Linked DNA regions of Homo sapiens: region 1 is linked to region 2. The links are contacts of gene promoters, found by promoter capture Hi-C in blood cells and fetal thymus (Javierre and others, 2016). All regions are on one chromosome and are shown on one strand. Each heading gives the region's core, a stretch centred on a gene start or on the middle of the fragment in contact. The rest is flanking DNA. Distances are from core to core; before and after follow the strand shown.

Region 1 (4,808 bases), core at 2,093-4,592, 230 kb before region 2:
CAGGTGTGCGCCATCATGCCTGGCTAATTTTTGTATTTTTAGTAGAGATGGGGTTTGATCATGTTGGCCAGGCTGGTCTCAAACTCCTGACCTCAAGTGGTCTGCCCACCTCGGCCTACCAAAGTGCCAGGATTATAGGCATGAGCCACTGCACCTGGCCCACGTTGTGCTTTCTTGAAGTCAGACTATATATCTAAACCCTAACCCCATATAAGATTGTTTGTAAGCACGCTGTGTTTTCTTGAAGTCAGACTGTAGAGCCAGGATGAATTAATTGTCCATAATGCCATACATGGCCCTATCCACAGCCACATGCTTTCTGCTTATCTATTGCATAGGATTATATGTGGGAAAATGGATCGAGAAGCTTAAAGTATGATAATCCTTTGATATTTGGTACTCAGTGATCTCTCTGACCTTCTTAAGTGGAGCATACTCAGGAAGCTGGCTCCTTCTAGTTTTATTGGGTTCTCAGAATGTTCAAAGTATCCACCTCACACCCCGCGCAGAAATCCTCCCTTTGCAGCCAGGATTATGACTTTACAGAGGGAAAAAGATATGGCAGCTACTAGTGGCCAGTGTACAGGCCCCAGAAGATGGCAGAAGTTGTTCTAATGCTTGTTGAGGATATTGTAAGGTCAAAGAAGCAACGCCAACAATCCCACCGTTGTCACACCCCTGCTGCAGCCCCCTTTAGGACACCATAGAAATTCTACACAGTAACACGGGGATGACAAGAGGCCACATACTCCATGCTGGGGCATAAAGTGGGCACGACAATTTTTCACTCCTTGGTCTGAGTAAGCGAGCTTTGTGGCATCAAATCATTATGTTTGTATGTTTGGAAGGCCACGCCATCTATCCTCCCACCCAGGGCAGGAATTTCTGCTCCCACTTTTGCTTTCCTGGAGGTGAAATAGGAAGAACAAGGACCCATGCTCAAGTCCCCAAAGAATGGCAGGATGCCCTCAGTGGAGGCAGACTGTATTTAAATGCAATTCACCTCTTTGGGGTCTAGGAAAAGCCACCCGTAGGTTCATTTGCTGGGAAACACGGTCTGCGTGCCTGAGGCAGTGGACACCAGGGTTGTGGCCTTGCCAAGAGCTGACTTTCTCCGGAGGTCTGTCTGCTGTCCGGAGTGGCAGCCACTTCGGTGGGCAAATAGGACGGTCATCTCTGGGCCCAAGGACGCTGCTTCAGGCTGGGACGCCTTGAGGGTGGCTGGCTGTTCAGGCTTTCCGGAGGTGGGATGGGAGGTGTAATGTTTGGTGGGAGGAGGGCTGTAATTCTGAAATCTCACGGTTTTGACTTGCTGCAAGAGAAAGGAGAGGAAATGGACACAGGTGAGGTGGGAGATGTCTATTTCCCCATGCTTGTCCCCACTTGAAATGTCTCATTTATGTGTTCATTCTGCAAATATCTGTGGCTACCATGAGTGTCAAGTGCTAAGATGGGGGAAGTACAAGATGCTGAGAATGCAGAGGAGCATCTAACTTCAGCTGGAAGTGGAGAAGCCAGGGAAGTCTTCCCAGAAGCTTTAAATTGAGAACCACAAAAGGATTAGGACTTATCTGGGAGAAATAGGGTAGGCCGCCGCCTATAAAAACAGCCTGAGGCAAGAGGGTATGATCCCTTCTGGAAGATTAAAGAAATTTACCTTGCCTCTCTCCTCTCTACGTACTATTAAGGCCAATCTCAAGTTTTTCCTTTTCTTTGAGGCCACTCTCCTGATGACTCCATTTAGAGATTTCCATAATGGCCTTATAAATCCTTAGAGCACAGTTTGCAAACTGGACACCTGCTGGCTGAATTTAGCCTGCAGAATGTTTGAGGGTTTGATCGACTCGCCAACACATAAAAATTGGGAGATTGCATATAAAAATCAGAATTTCATATGTCTCTTAAAAAAAAAATCAAAGCTCTGACGCACTGGGCCTATGGCTCATTCTGACAACAGCTGGCTGGACCTGAGAAGCAGTGCCCCCTTTATATGAGATGCAAGGTCTCCAGTTTATGCCAATTCCCCCTCTTCCTCTTTCCTTTCACATCTCCTAGCCTGTTATATATCTGCTAGGCACCCATAGGTACAGTATTTGCTTTAGCCAGTCTCTATCTCAGGGCCTAATAAAGCGTTCTGTGGTACTGCTCAGGAATGATGTCTTTCTTCCATGTAATGCAACCCTAGTATCCCCCACTAAGATCTGAGTTTCTTCATACGTTCTGATCCTCCTAATATCTAGCCAAGGTCTGGGCATTTATGAAATGCTTATAGTTGTATCTAAAAGCTTGGAGTAATGGGCAACTGGGGCCTAGAAAACTCTGAATTATTTCTATAATTCAGAATAAGAACTCCCAACCTTTATATATGTCAGTGCTTTTTCCAATACCTTTCCCTATGAGCTGATAGCTTAGCAGTAAGAGCATGAGTTTTGCATCAGATCTGGATTCTACTCCACACGTATGTGTCAACTGTGCGGTCTTGGGTAATGTTCTTTAACTCCCTGAGCTGCCATTTCCTAATTTTAAAATGAGGATGAAACTAATGCCTATTTGAGAGGGTTGTTGTCAGGATTAAATATATGGGACACATGAAGTACTCAGCACAGTGCCTGCCAGCTTGTTAGTATTCGATAACTGGTTAACCAATGGGGGAATCGCATCCTCTTTCCGTTCTGAGGGGAATGGACGATGATGGTGGAATGATGCTGATGGCGGTGGTGATGGAGGTGGTGATGGCGATGATGTGATGATGGTGATGTTCATAAATTAAGACAGCAATAAGCATCACCTAACTTTCTTACTGTCCTCTCTTCCCACTATTCCTCCTGCTTCAAGGATATTATTGAGAACATAAGCCTTTTACAAAAACTCTCACGTCTTCTAGTGGGAAATATCCTGGACTAGAAGTTAACAGATCTGACGTCTGCCACAGAGGTCACAATAAGGTAGTTGGAGTCATTATCATTCAGTGTGACCTCGATGTCACTTACATTATCCTGTGCCTCAGTTGCCCCTTTTATACAATGCATAATTATGTGTCAAACCCTATGTAAGCACTTCACATATCTCGTTTAATCTCCACTCCATTACTGTGTGGCCATTACTCTTTCTACCTCCATTTTACAGATTATGCAAACTAAGTGACTCAGAAGGGTGAAGTATTTTGACCAAAGTCACCCAGCTAGCAAGCAGCAAAGCTAGAATTCAAAGCAAGATTCATCTAATGCCAAAGTCATGCTTTTTTTTCAAGCCACTTTTGGGCCTCAAAAGATGTATAAAATATTCAGGAAACATAAAGGCGAATCAGTAACACATGTAGGGAGGGCGTGGGTGATGTTGGGGATGTTGGCCATGGCTCAGTGGGGAGTTGGGGAGGAGGAGTGTTATGTGTGAGGATTCTTTCGAGGCTGCAATTTTGGTTCCTTGTTCACCAACACTAAAATCTCTGAGCTGAGACACTATGCATAGTACGGGATCGAAAGAGTTGGGCCCCCAATGTCACTCTGATCCTACCTTTTCGATGCCATTTCTTGAGTTTTCTGGTTTCACCAGGATGGATGGTGGGGCAGATGCGGGCGGTTTTGGCAGAGGCTCACTCTTGATGGGGATTTCTTTGTCTTCCATAATGAGGGAGCTGGCCGCGGAGTGGATCCAGGCCTCACTGCCCCTGCTGATGCACGTGAGGGCGGGCTCCCCCGTGAGGGCAGGCTTGGACCCCATCTCCACCACCACGGCTGAGGGGGAGGAGGGGATCCCCTGTGGCTGGTAGAATTGGAACTGCTGAGGCCGAAGGACCATGGTGGGGCTGCGTCTGAGGGAGCCTACCACGAGAGTGGGGATCCCGGACTGGAGGGGTCTCTGCAGGGATCCATCTGGGGAATTATAGGACAGAGAGATCAGCAGCAGGGGCGGCTGGCAGTAGGTTGGGTGGGGCTGGGTAAGCAGTGCTTCCTGATATCCCAGAATAGACAAGCGCTTTCCTAATCTGACTGCACTCACATTCTCTCCGGGTCTTTCAAAGGTGACCTTATTCTTTTTTTAGTGCTGTTTGCTGATGCTGGCAGCAAATATCTCTCTGGCTGAATGGTGTGTGTGAGTGTGTATGTGTGTATGTGTGTAGGGGGGCTGTCAGAAGGTATATTGCTTCCATTTGCCTTGTGATACACACACACACACGCACACACACACGTACACACACACACGCGCGCGTGAAGCAGACACAGAGGCAGTCAGACCAAATAGGAAACACATGACAGAATCAGAGATAGGAAATAGAAGACATTGAGAAACACAAAGGAGAGGCAACCGAGAAGAATGAGAGAGAGGAAAAGGAGAAAGAGAGGAGGAGAGAGGAAAACTCTGCCCAGCGACTTGCTGTGAAAATCTTGACAGAAGCTTTAGGCATGTGGCAGGTGGGGGTTGCTTTTTGTCGGGGGCTGCAGGGAGAAAGGGTGAGTGGCAAGGGCTAGGCAAGCACAACAGCAGACAAAGGCAAATTTGGAAAGGTTATTCCACAGTTAGGGCTGTGAGGATGGGCTTTGCAATGTCTCATGACAGAGGATCTGGAATCAGACCTCCTCCTGGAAAGCCTGGGATGAGTTAAGTCACGTCACCTCTCTGCACCTCAGTTCTCTCGTTTGTAAGCTGGAGATAATAACAGTACATCATTGGGCTGCTGTGAGGATTGCATTCTATTTGGTGTGCAAAGTATCAGGATAGTGCCTGGAATATGATAAATGCCGCATGTCTGTTAGCTATCATTATTTTTGGGTAAAGGATCACATATCCTAAAAATGCAAGGTCCAAGA
Region 2 (4,468 bases), core at 1,969-4,468:
GCTACAAGATAATAGGCTCATGTTGTCAAGTCTGGCACACGTTTCAGAAAGCCCCAACGTCCTTGGAATGGGCAGGTCACATTTGTTCTTACACAAGTCACTCAGCCAACCAGCCCCAAGTAGAGGTTGCAGGTGGTGGGGCCTTTAATCTTTCAGGACACACCATTGGCCTTTCATGGTTACTTAATCCGGAGATTAAGTCCTGCTTAAAGATACACTCTGGGAGAAACTGATGGTCAGAGTGGATTGAGGATACAGGGCCCAGGACCTACGCTAGCAGGGGGTTTGTATGTCACATCTGGTCTCCAGCTACTCTGGTAAAAGAGGCAGATACAAAATACCATAAACTCTGCAGGTAATTGATCTCTCCTTTGTGGACCTGTGTAGTCTCCCTGGAAGACTGCTTTTTGTTTTCCTGTAAGGAGGGATTGGTGATATAGTGGAGTGGCTTTTAAACATGCATCCAACACATGTAAGAGCATTTGCATCTCATTCTCCTCTCCACTCCTCCCTCTGTATTTCAAGGAAATGCTGCTTACAGGCTTAGTAAGGTGGGGATTAAGAATTAATTATTGGATTTAGCAATTTGGTCATTGGTGACCTTGACAACAGTCGTTTCGGTGAAGTGGTGGGGGCAAATACTGATTGGAATGGGCTCAAGAGATTACAGGCAGCTCTTTTGAGGAGCATCAGTGGACCAGAGACTCGGAATACAGCTGGAGGAAGATAGGGGGTTAAGAGTTGTTTTTTTTGTATTGTTTCTGTTTTTGTTTTTAGATGGAAGAAATTACAGTGTACTTGTTGTGCTGGCTGGAATGGCCCAGTAGAGACAAAAGCTGATGATACAGAAAGGAAGGGGGATATTGCTAGAGAGATGGCCTTGAACAAGAAAGAGGACAGGAACTTTTAGTGATGTACTAGAGCTGGCCATTCAACACAGCTATTATTAAAGTATATAAATTTACAATCACATATAAAAATTAATAAATATTTATTTATTTGAGATGGGTCTCACTCTGTGGCCCAGGCTGGAGTGCATGGCACGATCATAGTTCACTACAGCCTTGAACTTCCGGATTTAATAGAGCCTCTGGCCTTAGCCTCTCAAGTAGCTAGGACTACAGGTGTGCACTGCCACACCTGGCTAATTTTTTATTTTATTTTTTGTAGAGATGGGGTTTCACTATGTTGCCTACACTGGCCTCAAACTCTTGGCCTCAAGTGATCCTTCTGCCTTGGCCTCCCAAAGTGCTGAGGTTACAGGCATGAACCATAGGAGCCTGGCCAAAGAGTAATAAACATTGAAAACTCATCCCTTCCTGCTACATTTTCCATTATTTATGTTTTTGGTTCTTTATGGCTGTCGTATGTGGGTGGTGGAAATACTATGTGATGGTGTGCTTCTGTGCTTCCCTCCCCAACTCCCACTCCTCACTCAACTCCATGTTGCTAAATCCCCAACTTGTGTTTAGTGACATCGAGTTGGCATCTTTAAACATGGTAGGAGTATTTACACCACAGGAATCAGCAACCTTTGGAAATCAGGGCCTTGCTTGATTTATACTTTAAAGGACAGCTATTTGTTAAACATTTTTCAGTTCACCTCAGGATTCAGTGGACAAATGGAGACACTGGTGCTAAAACAAAGTGCTGACAGTTCACCCACAGGAACAAGAGTGAAGGCAAGGCATTTGGTCTGGTGGGTAGAGAGGTGGCAGAGCGATGTGACCTATTGACTAAGTGAAAATGGAAGTAAGGTAATGACTGGAGTATAAGGCTGGGAACAAAGGTGTCAGAGGTGTGGAGGAATGCGGGAGAGTAAGTGGATTAGAGAAATTCAGTACTCTCTTTTTTTTTTTTTTTTGAGATGGAGTCTTGCTCTTGTCGCCTAGGCTGGAGTGCAATGGGCGAGCTCTGCTCACTGCAACCTCCGTCTCCCGGGTTCAAGCGATTCTCCTGCCTCAGCCTCCGGAGTAGCTGGGACTACAGGCGCCCGCCATCACGCCTGGCTAATTTTTGTATTTTTAGTAGGGACAGGGTTTCACCATGTTGGCCAGGCTGGTCTGGAACTCCGGACCTCAGGCGATCCGCCCACCTTGGCCTCCCAAAGTGCTGGGATTACAGGCGTGAGTCACCGCACCCAGCCAGAAATACAGTACTTTCATAGTGTATTTGTCTGGCACCATTAAAAGGCGCCATAGGGTTAGTGGTTATGAACTTAAAAGATGCACAGTGGGTGTGTATTTTCCTTCAGCCCCTTCTGGTGGCTTGGGTAGAGACAGTCAGAGGAGACCTAGATTTACACAAGGCTAGGGTTTTGCCAGACCAGTGTGACTGCGTATGGCAGGGGCGAGCGAGATGGCAAAATCGTAAAAGTCATCACCTCAGAGACCCTCCATAATCACCCTCACTAAAATCATGTCCGCGCCCGTGTCACTTTAACCGATTATTGTTTTTATTTTCCCAGCTTGTTGATTGGGTGTGAAATCAGCCGGCTCATCAGCAGAGCTGGTGTTTCCTCCCTGCGGAATCCGCAGTGCCCACTACAGCGCTGGGGCATAGGAGGCCTCAGAACCGTGCTGAATACACGGATTAACGTGCTGGTTCTCCTAACATCTGTTGGTTGCAGTAAATAATAATACTCGCAACTCTTTTGTATCCTCTAGTTCCTTGCTCCGTGGTGTTTAACCTTAGCGAGCAAAGGAACTTACCTGCAGGTTTTGGTGCACTAAAACGCGGTTCTTATTCCCGAGGCAATCTTTACCTTACACGAGGCCCAAACCCAAGCCTCAGAGGCAGCTGCCTGGTGGCATGAGTAATGCTGGCCTTTGTCACACCAGGCCTTCCTTATTAATACTTTTTTCCCGTGCTGCCAACCACGGCTTATTCTGTGACTCCAGGCGGTGATACCATAAACGCATAAGCCCAAGGTCCAGGTTTCCTGGGGCGGGGCGTGATGGCTCCCAGGCAGAGAAGCTTTTCTCGGCAGGCGCGGCCGCGGGAGGGCACCAGGGCCGCTCTGGCGCCGCCAGCGTGGAGACCGCGGGGCCCCGGGTGCTCTGGGAGCGCTCCAGCGCCTCCCGCGCTCTGTAACCCCAGGCCCCGGACTCTGGCAGTAGGGGCGTGGGCGTGGCCGACTGCGCGTTTCTCCGAGTGGCCAATAAAGTTTCGAAAGTTTGAAAAGCGGAGGAAAAAGGCCACGCCCATGTGGCTGTCCGAGTGTGGGCGCCTCCGGGCCTCTGCGGAGCCCTGGGCAGCTCTGAGCTCGCGGAGGCGTGGCCGGTGCGCGGGGCCCGCGGCGCGCGGGGATGGGGGTCTCGGTGGATGTGCACCAGGTGTACAAGTACCCCTTCGAGCAGGTGGTCGCCAGCTTTCTCCGAAAGGTACCGCCCCGCTTCCACCTTCCGTATCCCGCGCTGCCTCCGCTGCTTGCCCCTCTCTCCTCTCCTTCATCCACGCGGAAGCTGGCACCGCCAGTGTCTCTTTCCAGCTGCGGGCTTTGCTTCAGGGATGTGTGGGTCGAGAGGGATTTCCTCGAAGACTCCCTTTACAGGGAGCGGGAAAAGGGGCCGTGCTTGGCATCACGTTCACACCTGCCCCAGCTGAAAGAAGAGGCTTTCCTTTTAGGAAGAGCCTCCGGGAATCCCAGCTCGTGAGCTCCGTGGAGTTGCAGATGACCGACGTGTGGAGCTTTCCGGTTCATCACTGACCCCTTAAAAGCGAGGGGAGGCCATTGGGCAGTCATCCTGGTTTACTCAGCATGATGGTTCTGCTGCCCCATCCGCTGCTCCTTATTAAACAGCTGTGGGACATCGTGCAGGTTGCTTACTCTCTTTGTGCCTTAGTTTGCTAATCTGTAAAATGGGGAAAATAATAGTACCGACTCATAGAGTTGTTGTGAGGATCCAAATGAGGTAACTTGTGTAAAGTGCTTAGCACAGTTGTGACCTAAATGAAGAAACTGAGGCAAAATCAATATAAAAAGAGAGTTCATTCGAGCCAAGTTTGAGGGCTGCATCCTGGGAGTGAAGGTGCCCTGAGTATACATTCTGATGAGCAGAAGTCGAAAGTGGGTTTTTAAAGGAGAATAAGAAGCACTTCCTAAGTTGTTTACCAAGAATTTATATTAAAATAACATAAACTATTGATTGTCTGTACATTGTTCTTTGTATCACAAATTCCAGGAACTTGAAGATAATGGGTAAGGCAGCTGGTCAGGAACAAAATGCCTTTAACCAGTTGCTCCCAGGAATGGGTTGGGTGAGGAGGGGACCACTAAAGTCCTATACTCTTGTCTCTCTGGGCTTGATTGATTTTGCATATTTCACTGTAACTCACACAATCTGCTCTGAGCTATTTTTCTTTTTCTCACTGCTACTGATGTTTAGTTAGGGCTCTAAAATGTTATTGTTGTTTGTATTACTACAACCGATTTCAATACAGATAATGAACTCTTCCTCAATACTGA

The links. The method cuts DNA at HindIII sites, captures the fragments that hold promoters and counts their contacts. A CHiCAGO score of 5 or more calls a contact.
Region 1: a fragment that was not itself captured here is called in contact with the fragment with the promoter of PRELID2 in region 2 in 1 of 17 cell types (M0 macrophages); the score reaches 5.8 in M0 macrophages.

What each region holds. Positions count from the first base shown.
Region 1 is chr5:146,058,930-146,063,737 of GRCh38, reverse strand. It overlaps SH3RF2 (SH3 domain containing ring finger 2), which reads right to left. Exons shown (of 10, transcript NM_152550.4): 9 at 3,514-3,872; 10 at 446-1,312. The coding sequence ends at 1,037. The region is part of intron 1 of LOC107986458 (a long non-coding RNA gene); the gene reads left to right. Among named protein-coding and RNA genes, the nearest start is that of PLAC8L1, 44 kb to the left of the region's middle. The HindIII fragment of the contact is 2,110 bases long and covers 2,288-4,397 here.
Region 2 is chr5:145,834,092-145,838,559 of GRCh38, reverse strand. It overlaps PRELID2 (PRELI domain containing 2), which reads left to right and starts at 3,218. Exons shown (of 7, transcript NM_205846.3): 1 at 3,218-3,383. The coding sequence starts at 3,309. RefSeq lists a silencer at 2,907-3,026. The HindIII fragment of the contact is 2,489 bases long and covers 2,979-4,468 here.